3 separate regions of the Homo sapiens genome follow, and regions 1 and 3 are each linked to region 2. Evidence: promoter capture Hi-C in 16 types of primary human blood cells and fetal thymus (Javierre and others, 2016). All regions are on one chromosome and are shown on one strand. Each heading gives the region's core, a stretch centred on a gene start or on the middle of the fragment in contact. The rest is flanking DNA. Distances are from core to core; before and after follow the strand shown.

What was found. The method cuts DNA at HindIII sites, captures the fragments that hold promoters and counts their contacts. A CHiCAGO score of 5 or more calls a contact.
Region 1: a fragment that was not itself captured here is called in contact with the fragment with the promoter of SIM1 in region 2 in 1 of 17 cell types (endothelial precursors); the score reaches 8.2 in endothelial precursors.
Region 3: a contact is called between a fragment that was not itself captured here and the fragment with the promoter of SIM1 in region 2, in 1 of 17 cell types (endothelial precursors). The highest score is 7.0, in endothelial precursors.

What each region holds. Positions count from the first base shown.
Region 1 is chr6:100,287,646-100,290,393 of GRCh38, reverse strand. No RefSeq gene overlaps it. Among named protein-coding and RNA genes, the nearest start is that of SIM1-AS1, 100 kb to the left of the region's middle. The HindIII fragment of the contact is 1,309 bases long and covers 671-1,979 here.
Region 2 is chr6:100,463,304-100,466,216 of GRCh38, reverse strand. It overlaps SIM1 (SIM bHLH transcription factor 1), which reads left to right and starts at 1,296. Exons shown (of 12, transcript NM_005068.3): 1 at 1,296-1,603; 2 at 2,282-2,913. The coding sequence starts at 2,749. The HindIII fragment of the contact is 823 bases long and covers 592-1,414 here.
Region 3 is chr6:100,271,364-100,274,135 of GRCh38, reverse strand. No RefSeq gene overlaps it. Among named protein-coding and RNA genes, the nearest start is that of SIM1-AS1, 120 kb to the left of the region's middle. The HindIII fragment of the contact is 1,669 bases long and covers 598-2,266 here.

The DNA.
Region 1 (2,748 bases), core at 76-2,575, 180 kb after region 2:
TTTTAGCAAAACAAATAAAGATCAAAAAGCTAAAAAATACTTCTCTAATACTATTAGAAAAATCAGAGTAGAATTTTTTATAAGCTTAGTATGGGGAGGATTTTTCTCAGTAAGAAATGAGATTTAGAAACCATAAAAAAAACCTGGCAGTTTTTATTACTTAAAAATTAAAAACTTCTGTATGGGAAAGGCAGCAATACATACACATTTAAAAAACAACTGTGAGAAAATATTTCTTTCTGTCTCTCTCTTTTTTTCTCTCTCTCTTTTCTTTCTTCCTCTCTTCCTTCTCTCTTTCTTTCTCTTTCTTTTTCTTTCTCTATTTGATGACAGATGATAAATCTATCATCTATCTACCTATAAATTTATCTATGCTTCTATTTATCTAATCTGTATCTCAGATTAACAAAAATAATAAATTAACAAAAGTGTTAGCCAAGTAATTAGAGTATTAACAAAAATAATAAATCCAGAGTTACTAGCAATACAGAAGAAATAATTAAGCCACCCAGATCATGGGAAAGGAGATGAAGTGGCAAGTCACTGAATAAGAATAAGTAAGCTACAAACAATTGAAAAAGTATTTAATCTCAATAGCAATCATTCAAATTAAAATAATAATAATGTACTTTTAATTTTTTTCTATCAAATAAACAAAAGTTTAAAAGCTTGATGATACTGAGTATTGGCTAGTATTTGGGCAAACAAGGGGTCATACATTGTTTCAAGGAATATAAATCGGCACAAACTCTTTACAAGGCAATTTGACAGTATTTGTAAAGATAAAAATACACATATCCTTCCATCTGTAATTGTAGTTTTAGGAATTTATCACACAGAATGATTCCCTGTAAGTGTTCTGAGATGTCTATACGGCATGCAGCATTCAGCATTGTCAGCAAAACACTAAAACAACTGACATGCCTGTCAGTAGCAGACTGGGTACACTATGATTCAGCTATTATACAAATAATACAGCTGTATCTACATTCACCAACATGAAGAGATATCTACAATATAGTGAGTGAAAGCATACAAACTATAGAAAAACATTCAATTTTTAAAAATTAGAAAATATTTCTATATGCATATATGTATTTAAAATACCTTAAAAATATAAGAAGCATCCAAAAAGAAAAACATGATAAACATGATGAACTCTGGATAGTGGGATTAGGGAGGAACAATTTTTAATCTTATACTCTTCTAATAATTTTCATTATTTTTAACAACAAAGATTCTGCTTTTTCATTGTATGCCCCTAGTGAGAATGCTGTTTTATTAGACTGACCCTCAGCATGCAAACTTGTATACCATATAAGTTTCATGTCATAGACATCCAATTATTTTTTTAATGAAAAGTCTTTGGGGGAAGGACTGGTGGGGGGGAAATGTTGACTTGGGGAATCACTGGGACCTATGGGGACATTGTCCTATAGAATCAGAAATGGGACTCTGAATTTCTAGAGTGGGATTCAGGCTTGAGAGGTATATGAGGGAGCTACTCCTACATGGATAGTTGTAAGAAATGAACAGAAATAAAGGGAACCTTAAATATCTAAAAGTTTAAGAGCTCAACATGGACATAATTTATTTCTTAGACACTTCATCTAAAAGTATTTAGAAGGAGTTGATATAGACAATATATAATATGTTAGTACCAGCATTATTCCTGCCTAAAGTAGGCAAAGGCCTCTGTCCCACTACATGGGCAACGCCCGCTGTCTGAGATTTAAGAGCTAGTTTGATTATATAAGATATTGTAAAAGTCATCCTCTTTTCTAAAGAACAACTAAAGCATTTTAAAATATAGCTTACTATTGCCTGAACTCATCTCTACTGTGGATTAAATTATTACTCTTCAAATATCACTACATACAATAAAAGCCAAATAAGCTCTGAGTCATGCATATCAACATGTTTTATAAAGCACATCAGACACTATTATGTTATGTGTTCCCTGGATTCTCAACAAAGCTTTGAGGGATTCGTATTATTTTATGCCCATTTTACAAATAAGAAAACTGTATGCTGTCTAAGGCTACATAAGTAATAATACGGCCAGGGTTTGAACCCAATGTTTTAGGGAAGCAATTTGGTATAGCAGAAAAGGCCTAGACTTCTAGGCAGAAAGAAATGAAAAATTTGCTTGATGACAACAAAATAAGCTGTGTAACTAAGAAAGAACCACTTCTGCTGTTGTAGGTTGTAAGATCAGGTAACAATACTGCTATATTGGTACCTCATCATTCTGTAACTGTGAATTGGCCAGGTAATATATACTGTCCTTTATGGATGAATCCAAGAATATTTTCTCAGATAACCTTTATAGCATGTCTTGAGACAGAGTCATAAGAAATCCTGGCCACAAAGCCAGTTACTTTCCTGCTTAACAAACTTAATACATCCGTGGAATTTACTGTTGTACTCTGCCACTGAGGCAGTCCTAACGTAGGAACACATGCAGAGATGATAAATTTGTGAGTGTGTCTGGTAGAAGAGCTGAAACAGATGTGCAGAGTGAAGGACATCAAAGTTAAAACAATTACCATCTCAACAAATGGGTAGTTCTTCCAGATACAGGCTTAGCATTTTTAAAAGACCTGGGAACCCATTATATCATACTGGCAAATCAGAGGTGGTATATTTGGATGTGAAGCATTTGTAAATCACTAAACCAAACCAAAACAAAGATGAGTGGCCATTAGTTGTTTTAAAAGATACTATCATTCAGCAGCAAATGTCATG
Region 2 (2,913 bases), core at 47-2,546:
TTTGAACAAACACTCTTAAAGTTGTTCTGAATATCAGCAGAATGGCACACACCCCTCTTCAAAGTATTTATTTTCTCAGTGGCAATTAGCGCCACAAACGAGAGGATGAGTGCCCCGTCACTGGTGTTCTCACTGATTTTTATGGTAGATGAAACAACTCCCTCCAAACGCACCTCTAGGAGCCGAATCTGGTCACCGGCGTACCAAAACCAAGCCGGGAGTCGAGTCTGTAGGGGGTGATTCGTGAGGACAACAATTGTTTTTGGGACAATTTGACTTTTTCTTGATGCTACCTGTTGTGTTTTCTCAGATGAGAGAAAGAGAAGGCGGTTCAAATTAGAGGGTCTCTAAAAGATAATTAGTCAGCAAGAGTCCTGGTGAGCGTTTGTTTAAACAGCTCCTATTAGGGAACCGCGAGCATCGTTAAGTTCATTCATGTAGACTGTATCCTTTCTGTAAGGAATAATCATGTTGGACTTTTGTTTCCTGAAACAAAACCCGACAAAGAGTTGGCTAATGTTTAAGATAAAGGACTGTTGGGAGCTATGTATCTCTATATCAATCATTCTATTTTGCCCTGAAATGTAAGCTTTTCCCCTAGTGTCCCCCTAGCTGCTCCCCATAGGAAAACTCCCCGGCCGAGTTTCCACGGTGAAAAAAATCAGCCCCAAACCCAAGCCATTTCGAAAAAGACGCACTTCTTTGGGATTAATTTAAAGACAGTTATTGTATTTATTTCCTCTGGCAATGAATTCCGTGTCGCCATGGTTTCAGAGAAACGAGAAAGAGAAAATAACTCCCCAAACCGGCCTCGCGCACGCCGTCGGCCAGCGACTGCCAGCGGGATGGGCCTTTGGGCGAACCCTGCCTCCTCCGCCGGTAGACCTAACCCGCAGGCCCGACCTCCGCTGCCTCCGGACGTTCCCGGTTCTGCTGGGCCGCCGCGCTGGACTGAGCGCTCAACCACCCGACCCCAGGGAGCTCGAGGAGCGCGGGTCGCGCACGACGTCGGGAAGGCCCAGGAGGCCGCGAGCAGCGGCGGCAACCGGACAGCGCCGACCCGGCACCCTGAGCTCATTAGGAGTCCAGCGGTCCCGCGGGTAGTAAGATTCAGAGCCCGGAGCCTGGGCGCGCGGAGGGCGGCTCGGGGCCGACTCGTGTCACTCAGCCCTATTGGCCAATGAGCGCCTCGCCCCTGGCCGCGCCAGGCCAATGGGAGGCGAGGGGGCTTGTGAGTGGCATTGAGGGAGGGCGGGAGAGAGGCGGCCCCGGAGTGAAGTTGAAGCTAAACCCTTAAGCTATAAAGAAGTTACGGGGGGCAGTTTTCGGCTTCCAATTAGGAATAATAGTGAACTGGCTTCGTAGCAACTACGGAGGACCAGGATTCTAAAATCACCTCACTCGTCCCAAAGCTTGCATCCTCCTCTTTCTGCCACGCACCCCTCCTCCAATTCATGATCCAGAAAAGGGAGCCGGGAATGCTCTGCTCCTCTCTGCCGGTGGGAAGCGGAGAGGCCGGCGGTGTCGCTGGGTTGGACGGTAGGCATGAGAACAGTTAAGAGATGGGCGCCCCCGAAACCTCTGCCGCTTGTGGGGACTGAAGGTAGGTGAAGCAGAAGACGCCCCGCGCCCGCCCAGCAGCCCCGCAGCTCCGCGGTGGTGTGGGAGAGGCCGCGGCGCCTCCCACCCCCGGGGGAGCCTGCGAGGGGCTGTCGCGAGCGCGCCACCTGTTAACCTGGCGCTGCTGGGCCCCGCTTGTTGCAGCCCCTGCTGGGCAGCCAGAGCGCTGGGTCGCCTTGGGAGTCCCGAGAGACTTGGTGTGTAAGTGTCACTTTTTGAGGAATCCCTCAGACTTGAGACCCAAGTTAAAGAGGTAGCCAAGGTCCAGATCTGCCAAGGTAGGGAGCTGAAAGGCCCCTGCCTCGCCTTGGAGGAATTCTGATTTGCGGAAACCTGCTTTCCTGGGACGTGCGCCCGGCCTGGGCGCGGACTCGGGGATCCGCGGCGGAAGATCCCTTGCGGGTCTTCAGAAATATGTATTTTGTTGTTTGGGCAACTTCCCAGGGGTCTGGAGGATGCGGCTGGCATGGGTGAGGGAATGCCAGCATTATTTGCAGGGGGCTGTCTCGCTGCCGATTTACCCGTTTCTTTAAAAACAAACCCAAAACGCCTGGCTAGGCGCACTGAGGCCCTTTCCGGCCGTGTTTTTGGAATTGGGACGAGTGTGTGAGTACTTGTGGAGCCGCTGATCTCTTATGCTCTGATGCTGTTGTCTTCACAGGGCCTTGAAAGAGTTGTCTGGGGTTCCTGCTCTTCCCAAAGGGGCTCGGAGATACCTTAAATGCCGCGAGACTGAAGAGCAAACGTCAGGGATTATTATGTCGATTTTCCGAGGACCAGGGTTCGCAGCTGGCAGTAGAAGAAAAGGCTGGCTCCTCAGGGGTCCCACTGGCATTTGATACCCTGAACGACCCTCAGGATTGCCCAAATTCGGTGGATCGCCCAAATTCGGTGGATCAGCAACTTTCCTATACTGCATCCCGAATTTTCAAAGAACATATTTTCCGTTCACCCCCGCTGGTCTTTTACTGCCATCAATACACTGTTCTTGGTGCAAATACTTCAGCCTCTTTATTCAAAGTATGTTTTATGTTTTTGCCAAATATGATCTCTAATTGAAAGTTTATTTTTGGTTTTGGATGAATCTGCGGAGCTTAAGTTGTGAGAAGAAAGGGGGAACAAGACACAATGAAAGAAAAGTCCAAAAATGCTGCGCGGACTAGGAGGGAGAAGGAAAACAGTGAATTTTATGAACTGGCTAAATTACTGCCTTTGCCCTCGGCTATCACCTCGCAGCTGGACAAAGCATCCATAATCAGACTCACGACCAGCTATCTCAAAATGAGAGTGGTG
Region 3 (2,772 bases), core at 183-2,682, 190 kb after region 2:
GTTTTGAGAAATGCCTCCTTAGGTGTTTTGCCATACAAACATTATAGTGTACCTTATAGTGTACCTACACAAATCTAGATGGTATAGCGTACTACACGCTTAGGCTATAGCGTATAGACTATTGCTCCTAGGCTACAAACCTGCACAGCATGTGACTGTACTGAATACTGTAGAAAATTGTAACACCATGGTAAGTATTTGTGTATCTAAACATACAAAATGTAAATAAAAATGTAATATAAAAAATGTTACACCTGTATAGGGCACTTACCATGAATGGAGCTTGCAGGACTGGAAATTGCTCTGAGTGAGCCAGTGAGTGAGTGCTGAGTGAACATGAAGGCATAGGACCTTACTCTACATTACTGTAGACTTTATAAACACTGTACAATCAGGCTATACTAAATTTATTAAAAATGTTATTTCTTCAATAATAATTAACCTGAGCTTACTGTAACAATTTTTCTTTACAAATGTTTTAAATTTTTTTTAACTTTTTGACTCCTATAATACTTAGCTTAAAACCCAAACACATTTCAACTGTGCAAAAATATTTTTTTCTTTATATCCTATAAAAAGCTTTATATTTTATAAGCTTTTTTCTATTTTTAATAAAACACACAATTAGCCTAGGCCTGCACAGGGTCAAGATCATTAATAACACTGTCTTCTACCTCCACATCTTGTCCCACTGGAAGGTCTTCAGAGTTAACTAACACACATAGAGCTGTCATCTCCTATGATAAGAAAGACTTCTTCTGGAATATCTCCTGAAGGACCAGCCTGAGGCTGTTTTACAGTTCATTCTTTTTGTTTTCCAAGTAGAAGGAGTACACTTTAAAATAATGACAAATGGATAATATAGTAAATACATAAATTAGTAACATAGTTGTTTATTATTATGATCAAGTATTATGTACTACACAAAATTGTATGTGCTAGACTTTTATATGACTGTCAGGGCAGTAGATTTGTTTACACCAGCGTCCTCTAGTGAGTTACACTCACAATAAGTGTGCTACAGTGTTATAATGGCTATGAGGTCACTAAGAGATAGGAATTTTTCGGCTCCATTATAATCTTTTTTTTTTATTATACTTTAAGTTCTAGGGTACATGTGCACAATGTGCAGCTTTGTTATATATGTATACATGTGCCATGTTAGCGTGCTGCACCCATTAACTCGTCATTTACATTAGGTATTTCTCCTAATGCTATCCCTCTCCCCTCCCCCTACCCCACGGCAGGTCCTGGTGTGTGATGTTCCCCACTCTGTGTCCAAGTGTTCTCATTGTTCAATTCCCACCTATGAGTGAGAACATGCGGTGTTTGGTTTTCTGTCCTTGCGATAGTGTGCTCAGAATGATGGTTTCCAGCTTCATCCATTTCCCTACAAAGGACATGAACTCATCCTTTTTTAAGCTCCATTGTAATCTTAAGGGACTACTACTGTATACACGGTCTATCGTTGACTAAAATGTTATTATGCAGTATATGACTGTACTTTTTTTTAAGATCTTATGACTAATTCAAATTAAAAGAAAAAATGAAATAATTAAATGAAAATAACTTTTAAAACTTTTTTTTAACTAGAAAAATAAGGTGGATTGGTTACTGGCTGCCCCTGCAAGTCCTCAAGAGCCCATTTAACTGGGGAGTATTTGTGGAGTGTTATGGTGAAGATTTAATTATTAGAATACTATACATTCATATTGTAGTTTTTGCAGAGCTTTTCCAGGATTTCTCATTTATTTGTACATCAAGATTTCAGTGTAGGTAGGATATTGACTTGTTATTACTGCTGAGAAATTGAGATTCAGAGATTCAGAGTTACTTAAGATATCAGAAATTAGAGGTAAGAGCTGGGATGAGCACCCAGTTTTCTGTTTACTGTTTTGTTTTTTAAATAACAATAAACAAACTGAATTTTAAAAACAGACAAATAAATACGTGTGTTTATACATCTCCCCCATTCCACCCCAGAGCCTAAAAAATGGTGAGGATGGCTTCAGAATCCCAGAATTATGATTTTTAAAAATAAATGTATGGAAAAAAAAATCCACAAATTTGACCAGAATGAATTTCTCTGAGTCTTCAGACGCTTTCCTTTTGCTTAAGAACTGACATTCACAATCTGGTAACTGTGGACGGGTGAGTGCCTCTGTCTCCATCTCTTTGGTACTTTCACCTAGAAATGACCTAGGCCCTGTGCAGCAGTCACCTTAAAAGCTCACTTCAAATTCATTATATGGAATTCAGACAAGCTTGCATGTCAGGGTAACTGGTAGGCCCATGGGTGTTAACCTCATGTCTCTGTTCTGGGAAGATACTGTGGCTGATGACAGACTTTATCTTTCCAGTGGTTCAAGTGTAAAATAGCTAAGAGCCTTCTTGCAAATAGCCCAAGTTCCAATACTTCGACTTCTCAGAGGAGACAATTAAAAGTGGAGATAAATGCTCATAAAATTTCCCCCCCAAAATAAGGAAATTCTTTTGCAGGAAAAGAAAGTTTAAAATTACATGGACCCTTTCAATACCATACTTTTGAGGGAATGAACAAGGTTAATGTTGGTGGTTAATCATGGTTACAAGAGCTAGTGTCACCCTGTCAGGCTGGAGTGTACTACCTTGTGGCTACCTTGCTTGGCTAATTTTTTGTAGAGACGAGGCCTCGTTTTTTATATCTGGACTAGTATTGAACTCCTGGCCACAAACAAGTATCCCAACTCGGCCTCCGAAAGTGCTGGGATTGAAGACATGAATCACTGGGTC